Linked DNA regions of Homo sapiens: regions 1 and 3 are each linked to region 2. The links are contacts of gene promoters, found by promoter capture Hi-C in human tissues and cell types (Jung and others, 2019). All regions are on one chromosome and are shown on one strand. The core of a region is centred on a gene start or on the middle of the fragment in contact, and the rest is flanking DNA. Distances in the headings are between cores, read along the strand shown. Region 1 overlaps MOXD1 (monooxygenase DBH like 1). Region 2 holds the start of ENPP1 (ectonucleotide pyrophosphatase/phosphodiesterase 1). Region 3 overlaps LINC01013 (long intergenic non-protein coding RNA 1013).

The links. The method cuts DNA at HindIII sites, captures the fragments that hold promoters and counts their contacts. A contact is called where the count stands out against the background at its distance.
Region 1: a contact is called between a fragment that was not itself captured here and the fragment with the promoter of ENPP1 in region 2, in 1 of the 25 tissues and cell types used here (IMR-90 fibroblasts).
Region 3: a fragment that was not itself captured here is called in contact with the fragment with the promoter of ENPP1 in region 2 in 4 of the 25 tissues and cell types used here (aorta, bladder, hippocampus and 1 more).

The regions. Positions count from the first base shown.
Region 1 is chr6:132,312,476-132,315,743 of GRCh38, forward strand. MOXD1 (monooxygenase DBH like 1) reads right to left here. Exons shown (of 12, transcript NM_015529.4): 10 at 3,160-3,268. Among named protein-coding and RNA genes, the nearest start is that of MOXD1, 87 kb to the right of the region's middle. The HindIII fragment of the contact is 5,602 bases long and covers 1-3,268 here.
Region 2 is chr6:131,805,779-131,809,271 of GRCh38, forward strand. It overlaps ENPP1 (ectonucleotide pyrophosphatase/phosphodiesterase 1), which reads left to right and starts at 2,242. Exons shown (of 25, transcript NM_006208.3): 1 at 2,242-2,497. The coding sequence starts at 2,258. The HindIII fragment of the contact is 10,154 bases long and covers 1-3,493 here.
Region 3 is chr6:132,166,827-132,170,084 of GRCh38, forward strand. It overlaps LINC01013 (long intergenic non-protein coding RNA 1013), which reads left to right. Exons shown (of 6, transcript NR_187602.1): 6 at 2,212-2,548. Among named protein-coding and RNA genes, the nearest start is that of LINC01013, 36 kb to the left of the region's middle. The HindIII fragment of the contact is 7,965 bases long and covers 1-3,258 here.

The sequences.
Region 1 (3,268 bases), core at 110-2,609, 510 kb after region 2:
TGTGGTGATGAACTAGATTTAATGTCTAATTTAAAGTCTAAACATGTATTTTTAAATAGAGGCTCTTTTGTGCTCATATTTTTGAGGAATAAATTTAACCATGAAGTTAAATGGGTTTTGTCCTTTTTTTTTTTCTTTTTTCTTTTTTTTGGCAGGGGAGAATGACATCTCAAAACTAGCCTTGTTCTGTAAAGCAATTCTCCCTGTCTTTCCAAATTATGAAAACCCAACTTGAGTATTTCCTGAGGGAGACCAAAGGTATGGACACTGGTGGAGCTCATTGGGAAACAGGAGAGCCGAACATTTTTAGAGGCTTCATACCATTTAAACTTAAAAAAAAAAAATAGGCCATAGAATGCATTTAAATCATCTTGCAAACATACAGCTTTTAATATCCATTTGTTTTTAACATTCTCTCAAATTAACCATCGATTAGAAAATTTCCATTCAATATGTAAAAAATATTCTAAATGAGAAAAAGACTACTCAAGGCTAAGTAAGGAACAATATAACATCAATATTTGAAAACCAAGACTACATCCTAGTGTTTTTAAAATGATATTTTATGTGATGCTTGGATTTTTGTTGTTTTAATTTGTTTACATATGTAATTATTTACTTGTTATATATTTATGTATATTTATATATTGGCCTATATGTGCATGTTGTATGGGGAGAAAGAGATCAGAGACTAGATGCAAACCCCAACTCTCCCTTTTATTATGTACTATATAATGTTGAATAATTTCTTAATCTCTTGGTTTCTATTTCCTCCCCTATAAAACCGGGATTGCATGTCTTGCTCTACCTGTTGGAATTGTGTAAAAATGAATTATAAAATCATGCATATGAAAATACTTAGTAAACTATAAACCAATTTATGTAAGCATTTTGTTATTTGTATTTTATTAGATATAGGCATTTCTTCTAGTGGTCATTTTGCTGTTTGCAAAAAAATTCAGTAAAACCTATCTATGAATCATAAATTTAATTCAAAAAGAGGAGTGGGTCTCAGTTCATAATTTATAATCCTGTAATATTTAGGCACAAAAACTTGACCATATTTCTATTCTCCTTCATCATCTGCATTTTACCATATCCTCACTGAATGTTTTTTCACTCTCTCCTTAAATACATGTCTCAAAACTCTATGTGTGGCTAGGCATGGTGGTTCATGCCTGTAATCCCAGCACTTTGGGAGGCCGAGGCGGGTGGATCACCTGAGGTCAGGAGTTCGAGACCAGCCTGCCCAACATGGAGAAACCCCGTCTCTACTAAAAATACAAAATATTAGCTGGGCGTGGTGGCGAGCGCCTGTAATCCCAGCTACTTGGGAGGCTGAGGCAGGAGAATCACTTGAACCCAGGAGGCAGAGGTTGCAGTGAGCTGAGATCGCGTCACTGCACTCCAGCCTGGGTGACAAGAGCGAAACTCTGTCTCAAAAAAACAAAAACAAAAACAAAAACAAAACCTCTATGTGTATATTTTCTCTAATTACATAATTACGTCAGTCCCTTTCATTTTGAATAGTAGTGATCATTAGAAAATTCTTCTCTATATTAAAACAAATTCAGCCATCCCCAAATTTCCACCAGCCATTCTAATTCTTCTCACTGACATCAGTAAGAATAGATACATCAACCTTAATATATCCAAAACAGAATTCTCAATATCATCCTCAGCATGTTCCCCTAACACCATTCACACCATCACTGAGCCTTTACTCTGCTCTATCCCTCACTGCCTCCATGAGATGCCATTGATCAACAAGCCTGTGGGTGCTCCTTTCAAAAAGTAACCTGAATGGAATGTGTCTCATCAACTTGGTGTCACCACCTTGGCACAAGTGACCTTCATCCCTCAACTAGACAATCACAATAGTTTCCTGATTGATATTCCTTCCAGTCTAGCCCTCCTAGAGTCCTTTCCCAGTATAGTAGCCAAATTGACTTTATTTATATCCTTTAATTGCTTCCCTTTGCACTTAAAGCCCCAAGGCCTTATGTTGCCCATAAAGTCCTAAATCATCTGGTCCCACCTGCTCTCATGTGTCCTCACTTATTCTCTACCATACTTCACTCTTCTGCAGCCAAATGCACTCTCTTGCTGCTCCACAAACACGGTAGGTTCAGACTAACCACAGGGTCATTCATTACACTGGCTCTTTCCTGTGCAGAATTTGCATATCTCTATAGCTGGCTCCTTATCACGGAGGTCGCTGCTCAGATATCACCAACCCAGAGAGGCTTTCTTTATCCTGTTGACAACAACTACATACTTCCTTCACTGTTTTGTCTTCATAACATCTATTACTATTTAAAATATCTTTTTTTGTTTATTACCTCTCCCTCACTCCAGAATACAATCTCAAGAGGGCAAGGAAAATATGAATCTTGTTTATTATATCTTAAATAGCTCCTATAATTGTACCGAAAGAGAACAATTATACCTAAAGAGTTAACATAATAGGCCCACCTCAGAAAGGCCTGCTTGCAAGGATAATCCTTGGCAGGTGCCTGGAAACTTAAATAGTAAACGATTTCCTATATTGACATAAACTTTCTCTAATGATAAGAGTGACTCATTGTGCCTATACTGTGCAAACAATGCAGTTTATGCTGAACAACTGCTTTCCATCTGGAAGTATGGAATTTTAGTAAGTGGTAGGCAGAGACCACCTATATGACTAGTTCCTCCAAAAAACTCTGGGCACTGAATCTGTGATGAGCTTCTCCAATAGACAACATTCCATACATGTTGTCACAATTTGATGATGGTGTAATTTGGTGCATTCTGTGTGACTCCACTGGAAGAGGGCTCTTGGAAGCTTGCGCCTGGTTTCCTCTAGACTTTGCTTCATGTAGCTTTTCCTTTTGTTCTTTCTGCTTTGCATGCTTTCACCATATTCATGTTTTCCATGAATACAACTATTTGCTGAGTACTGTAGGTACTCCTTGCAAATCACAGAACCTGAGGGTGGTCTTGGGGACTCTGGACATAGTAATCAAAAAGGTTACTTGGTCTCCCCAGTTAAAAGTAATCAAATAGAACAAACAGTGCATAAAAATTTCTATAATGTGGTAATGGATCCAGTATGACAATAAAGCCCATCTTTCTCTGAAATACGTTACCCCATCATAAAATACATTTACTACTTACGTGACTGGTCTGTAGATCTCCTTAACCCCAATGAACTGAAGTTGTTCCATAATGTCTGGAATACTTGCACATCGAGTAAGATTAATTCTTGGGTAATAAAGAAGGTATG
Region 2 (3,493 bases), core at 992-3,491:
CTCATTTGACCAGTCTCAGTGGAGCAAATCTTTGTCCTTGAATCTGATTTTTGGAAAGAGTCAAAGGAAAATTTGGAGCCAAGTTTGGGGCAGAAAAATATGTGTGATTATGAAACAGTGAAAACCTGTTTCTCTTGGGTGGTTTGTGAGCTGACTCAAAGGTAACTTTTTAAAAAAGTTCAATAATGCTTTGAGGGAAGGCTTTTACTTCTTCCAGATGTCAACTGTCCTTTCTACTAAGCTCTCATAATATTGAAGTAGCTTTGTTGTCTATGGTGACATCCGAGGTTCTTGGTCTCACGGCCACAAAGATCAAATATGTGGACACACACAAAGGGTGAGGTTTGGAGCAGAATTTTTAATAGGCAAAAGGAGGAGAATAGCTCTGCTACAGAGAGGGGTCCCAAAAAATGGGTTGCAATACGTGGTGAAATGCAGGGGTTTTTATAGATGAGCTAGTGGGGAGGCGGTGTCTGATCTACATAAGGAGGGAAAACCCGGTTTCGTGCATATGGCATGAAAACCCGGTTAGGACCAGGTGTGTCATCTGCATAGGGCTTAAGTGTCTGGCAGCCCCGGCCCCAATCTTCTACTATATAGGCAGGTAGCTACTCCGTGTTGCTTATTTCCTTCTTACTGTGCATGTGGTAAAAAAGAGGGGAGGTGGAACCCCCATGGTGGACATGCCTGGCCCCAGTAGCCCCTTCTGTCTGTGCCGCTGCCGGCATCTCCCGTGCAAGCTTCCAGTTTCCTTACCTATGTTTGCAGCCCAATCTTCCAGGTTGCTCTTTGTTAGAAAGGAAGTGATTTCTTGGGCTGCTTTTTGTTAGAAGGTAAGTTCTGCCGAGGGCTCTTTTGCTCATACTATCTGCCTAAATAATTTCTATCTCCTGTATCAATATCCTATGTGTGACTCTATTCTGCATATATGACTTAGGTTTTAATTATTTTGTTTACGAGTTGGTCCTACCCCCCCACCCCCGCTTCCACCACACTTAAGGAAAGATACATTTTAATTCATTTTTTATATGGTATGCATAGTTGGAGGCCAAAAGATTGAGTTGAAGGATTCATTACTTGATGAATAAATGGATGGGTGGATGGATGAGTCAGTATAAATGAAGAGCATCCCAAGTTGACTATTTTAAAGGGATAACATGCATTTTATATTTGTTAAACATTCATTCTCATTTGTAAACACTTGTATATATTCATGTATTCAAAATGTATTGAAAATTAATTGTTTTCCTTGGTACCTGAAGTCAGTCCTGGGTATTGCAAAGTAGTTCGAAGTCACTGGTTTCCCTCTGTCTCACTTCACTACACACTGGTGATTTTGCTAAGTGATGAGCCAGAAAATGTACAAGTTCCAGAATCAAAGGTAAAACAAAACCCACCAAGAATCAGCTCACTGTTAGCGTCCTAGTTGAAAAATAAGGCTTATCAAAGTATTTCAGATTGCATTAACACTTTTGATATAGCTAGGTATCAGTGTCAACCTCAGGAGAGGGCAACGCCAACTCCTGAAACCTTCAATACAGAAAGTCTAGAAAAATAAGCAAATATACATACAAACAATAGCGAGAAGACTCCAGAAACCACATAAAACCGTGGGAATCGAAATATCCCTTACGTGTGTTCAGTACATGTGAACCCACGTATTTTAAGTGGACGATTTCTCTCTCAGAGTACCGTAGGTAGTGGGGGACGGGGCGCAGAGGGGGAGAAACAGAAAGTCGCCTTCCTCCATGGTTCATTTGCATTTCCATCCAGAAACTCACAGGTCGACCCCAAGACTCCACTCTCTCCCGCCTTTGAGAAGCCGGACCGGCATCGGCGGCTGCATCCTTCTCCTCCTCCCCGCTCTATTTTGGGGCCCCATGATCTCATGCCCTCTGCAGACCACACGCTGCAATTCCAGCCCAGCCCGCGCCGCGAGGCCACGCAGGGCGATTCCTGCAAGTGTCGGGAGGGTGGCCGGGGCGCGGGGAGGGGACGGCTTGGGGGGAAGTTTAAGACACGCCCACGTAAGGGACCCAAAATAACCGACACACAGAGTGCCCGAAATCAGACAGGAAGCCAAATAATCCGGGGCGTTGAGTCGCTTTGCCCTGACTGCGAGAGCCGGGTGTAGGGCGGGGAGCCAAGGATCTGACCGCGAGGGGCGGGCGCGGCGGGGAGGGGCGGGGCGGGGCGGGCGGCGCGGGGCCTATTAAAGGCGCGGCCGGGCAGCGGGGCCGGAGCGGCCGGGGCCACGATGGAGCGCGACGGCTGCGCGGGGGGCGGGAGCCGCGGCGGCGAGGGCGGGCGCGCTCCCCGGGAGGGCCCGGCGGGGAACGGCCGCGATCGGGGCCGCAGCCACGCTGCCGAGGCGCCCGGGGACCCGCAGGCGGCCGCGTCCTTGCTGGCCCCTATGGACGTGGGGGAGGAGCCGCTGGAGAAGGCGGCGCGCGCCCGCACTGCCAAGGACCCCAACACCTATAAAGTACTCTCGCTGGTAGGTCCGCGGCCAGGCCCCGGCGCCCGGGAGGGCTGGGAGTACGGGGAGGGCGGCGCCGAGCTCCTGCGCTCTCAGCGCAGTCAGCACCGGGCACCGGAGAGAGGCATGGTCCGGGAGTGCTTCTTCGCCCGCGCGCTCTCCTCCGCAGCCTTTGCAAGTGCCCTACACAGCCGCCCCTGCCAGGTACCTTGCCAGGGCAGGATGGTTCACTCTCACTTGAATTATGGATGCCTGTGAAAGCAGGCTGTTCAAAACGGTCATCCTTAGAAATACTCGACCCCCTGCCCCAGGAGAGTACGGGTTTTTAGAGGAGAAAAATGTCAAACGCGAAAGTTGTTGGTCTTAAGAAGGTGCATCAATGTGTTGCTTCTTTTAGGGGGCTCTGGGCGCAGTATACATGACTTCACTTGGGTTAACTGATTGCAGTTGAAGAGTTAGCGGAGCTCTTTAAGTTTTATTAGGAACTCTACGGAACACTTTTTCCCTTTCGCTCCGTTTTGGAATTTCCTTGCAGGTGCTCAGAAATTCCATGGATGTTCACATTATGTGACTGAAGAAACCTTTATGATTCTTTGCCCACTCTTCTAACCAGAGGCTACACGGTTTGTGTTGCTAACAAAAGCTACCTATTACTCCTCTGCTATTTTGCTATGACATTTGCAGGACCCACAGTCAACTTCATGAAATGTGGGGGTTGGTTTTTATTCTGAATTCATGGTGGGAAGTGCTGATTGAGAGAAGGCCTGGATTCCTGGCTGTTATTATTTGCTGAGGCCTTGCGTAACTGTCCCTAAACCTCAATTTCTAATGTGTGAAAATGGGACAACATCAACTCCCTTGTGCATTGCATGGGATTATTGTGAAAATCAAGCTGAAGAATGTAGGTAGGGAAGTAAATTGAAAACAGCAAGGAAATAGAATCATTTTTATTGTATTATATGGAAATCACAGATTTCTATGTATAGTGTACCCTAAAATATATCCCCTTACATA
Region 3 (3,258 bases), core at 92-2,591, 360 kb after region 2:
TGTCACCAATTTCCCTTTTTCTGACACAGTGACTATGTAAATATGTATAGAGATGTCTCTTCTGTCAGTCTGGATCCCTTAGTGACTGTGATGAGCAAAGTCTTATTGCCAGTGTTCATTGAATGAGTAACATGAGCACATACTTAATTGTTATGATAAACTACTCAGATATTAGGGTTGTCTATGCAGAATAACCCATCCTTTATTTTTCTTTTTATGCTAAACCATTCTTTTATTTAAGGCACTAGTACTTGATCATAACATATCACTTAATATTTTTTATTCTATAGCTTTAAGTTTTATTCTACAAATCCTTTTGTTGATAATAATTATAACTTGAATGTAATCTGCTTTGTGTTTCTAGGAGGCAAAACCAGGTAAGCAATACAGCTTAGAGAATACTTTTATTAAAAAACTTTTCTTTCTAAGAGTAAAATGAGTGAAAGAAAAATAACTAAATATATAGTCTCTGTCCTTGTGGGATAATAGTAACAGAGTTCATTAGAAAATATGAAATAATGACCCAAAGATAATTCTACAGGGACCATGTGAGCTTAGAGTGAGAAAAGGAAAGAAATCTTTTCCAGAAGGAGTGATCTAGAAAAACTTTATGGAAAAGGTGACATATAAACTGGGTTTGAAAGATGAATAGAATATTGATGAGGAAATTCTACACAGCATCTAAGTAAATATACCGTGAGAAAAGTGTAAGCAAGATATATAAATGGAACAACAAGTTATACAGTTTGACTTACTTGTAATAGCAGAGTAAATATGTAGAAGTGTGAATTTTATTTTAAAACATCAAAGATTTTTAATAGAAGAGGGATTTTGTTATTAAGAGGATAATTAATATTGCCATTATATTTAGGATGAATTATAAAGGATGGGTACTAGAGGTCATCAGAGGTTTGGGAGGGGTGAGAGTTTTTCATTGTCAAGGTGAGACAGCAAGGGTCTGAGAGAGGAAATAAAAAAGAAGAAACAGCTTTGAGTTTTGTTGAGCTACAAGGTTTACAGATATTTATATTTTCACCTATGACTTAGCATTTGAAAACCTAACAGTCTTCTTTTTTGTATATTGCAAGCCATATAAATAGAGTCTATAACTAGATAGATCTTATTGGATAACCACCCAAAATGTAATATTTTATGCTATTGAACACTGACTCAATATGCTAATATTCAACACTCAAACCAAAAGTGAAAACACAGATGCCTGAGGAAAGAAAAGTTGGCAGCAGAAACTAGTGGGAATTGGGTAGGGTTTTTCTTGGCCTTCTGCTGCACAATAGGCAATTGTGATTCAGGTGTATTTGTTTATTCTGGTAGAAATAAATTCTCCCACTAAAACAAAAGTGCCATTATAAAGAGCTAGACAAAATCAACAACACCCGTCTTTGCCATGTCTTGCATGACTGTAAGGGGTCACATTCAGGAATTGTTGATCAGACTTCCTTTGTCTCTCTCTTTTAAAAAGGCATTTTGCAAATTTAATACTTTTCCATGTTCTAAAGCATTGCTTGTCCACGGGAGAGGGGTTGGGTGTCAAGCAAACGCAGAGAGGCTCTAGGGGTTTCTAAAGTGGTCACTTCAATAGTCATTTCATAACATGTTTGTCGGCATGTCTTTCTTCCAGTTCTGGTTTTGTTACCTTCTCTCTGTTTTCAATGTAAACAGCAGTACAAAGTGAGCTATCTTCCTGCTATTCAAAATAAATACTTATTTGGGTAAAATTTATAATGTTAGATTCTACTTTTAGTCAGGAAATGCAAACAAAGCTTGGAGACTGCTTGTTCCCTGACCCCAAATTCATTCCATGTTGCTATAGCATCACCCCTGAGAAAATGGGCCTGCCTGTTTTCCTCCCCATAGACAAACTCAATGGGCTTTTGTCAGCTCTTGAATTATAGCATTAAAATTTAAACAGTAGGGATTTAATGGAGGATTATTATGACACTCCAGTGCATTCTTTCTGTTGCCATTAGCAACAACCCCAAGAATGAAATAAAATAATTGTTTTAGGAGGTGCTGTTTTCCTAAAAGATGAAACATCTACCTTACATTCTTGGAGTTACATAAACTAATTTGTGTGTGTGTTACTTCTAACATGAGTAGAGTATTGGTAGTGTATACCAATCCAATGATTTAAGGTATTTTTTTTTCCCTTTTAGTTCAACCAATCTACAAAGGCCAAAAATATTTTCACAGGCCCCCAAAAGATGAACTCCAATCTGCTGCCCCTAAACGCATTCTCCACTGTCTGGAAGATGTGCAAAGGCAACGGCACAGCGTTCTCCATCTCAAATCCTTCAAAGTGCTGTCAGAATAAAAGAATCCCCACCAAAAGCCCCAGGGAAATCTATCTGTCTGTATGGTATGGTAATGACTGAGGTTATTCCAGATAGGATTCTGGGAGAAACTCAGCTATTGAAATCTAATGAATGGAACTGAGAATTTCTTGTTATAATACTGTTTGTTTGATTGAATATATCCTTGCATATAGGAAGACATAAAAATAAATAATAAAAGCAAGATATTATTTGAATTTTTGTTTGATTATATAATCTGAGAATTTTTCTGGTAAGTAATTTTGCATCTGGATTTATTTTTTCTGCCAGTCACTTGCCTTTCTAGTTTTATGTCATTTTTATCTCTTTCCTATTTTAATGTCAGCACCTAGGTTTACATTAAGGATTGTATTTTTTTAATCACCAGGGATTACAACAATTTATGTTCCTTTTCTAGCTGCCAAAATACAGATATTTCCTTTCTTCTGCTATATTCTTGCTGGACAACTCCTTTCAAAATATTTTTAACTTTTTCTGTTTGAAGTGAATTTCAGTTCATTGTAGAAATAATACAAAATGAGTAACAGGCAATAAATAAATGAATAGTCCTTTGGATTTTTACCACCCAGAGATAATAGTTCTTAATCTAAGTGTGAGCCTTAATCTATAGCAATGAAAATTAGTCTTACTTTCACCAAAGACATCCAGGGTTCCCCTATCCTCTTCTGTAGAGGCAGCCCTATTACCAGTGTCTTGTGTTTACTTTCAGAGGAGTACATGCAAACATCTGTATATATGCCATTTTTACAGGAAAATGATAAATTTTACATTTTTCAGATCCTTGCTTTTTCATGTAACAATAAATCTTGAAATCAGTATAAGTCCCAGAATTTGTATAGGGACAGTCTTGTGGGACTGGAGAGTTGGGACATTGAGGGAGGAGACTAAGGGGTTTGCCTTCAAGTTG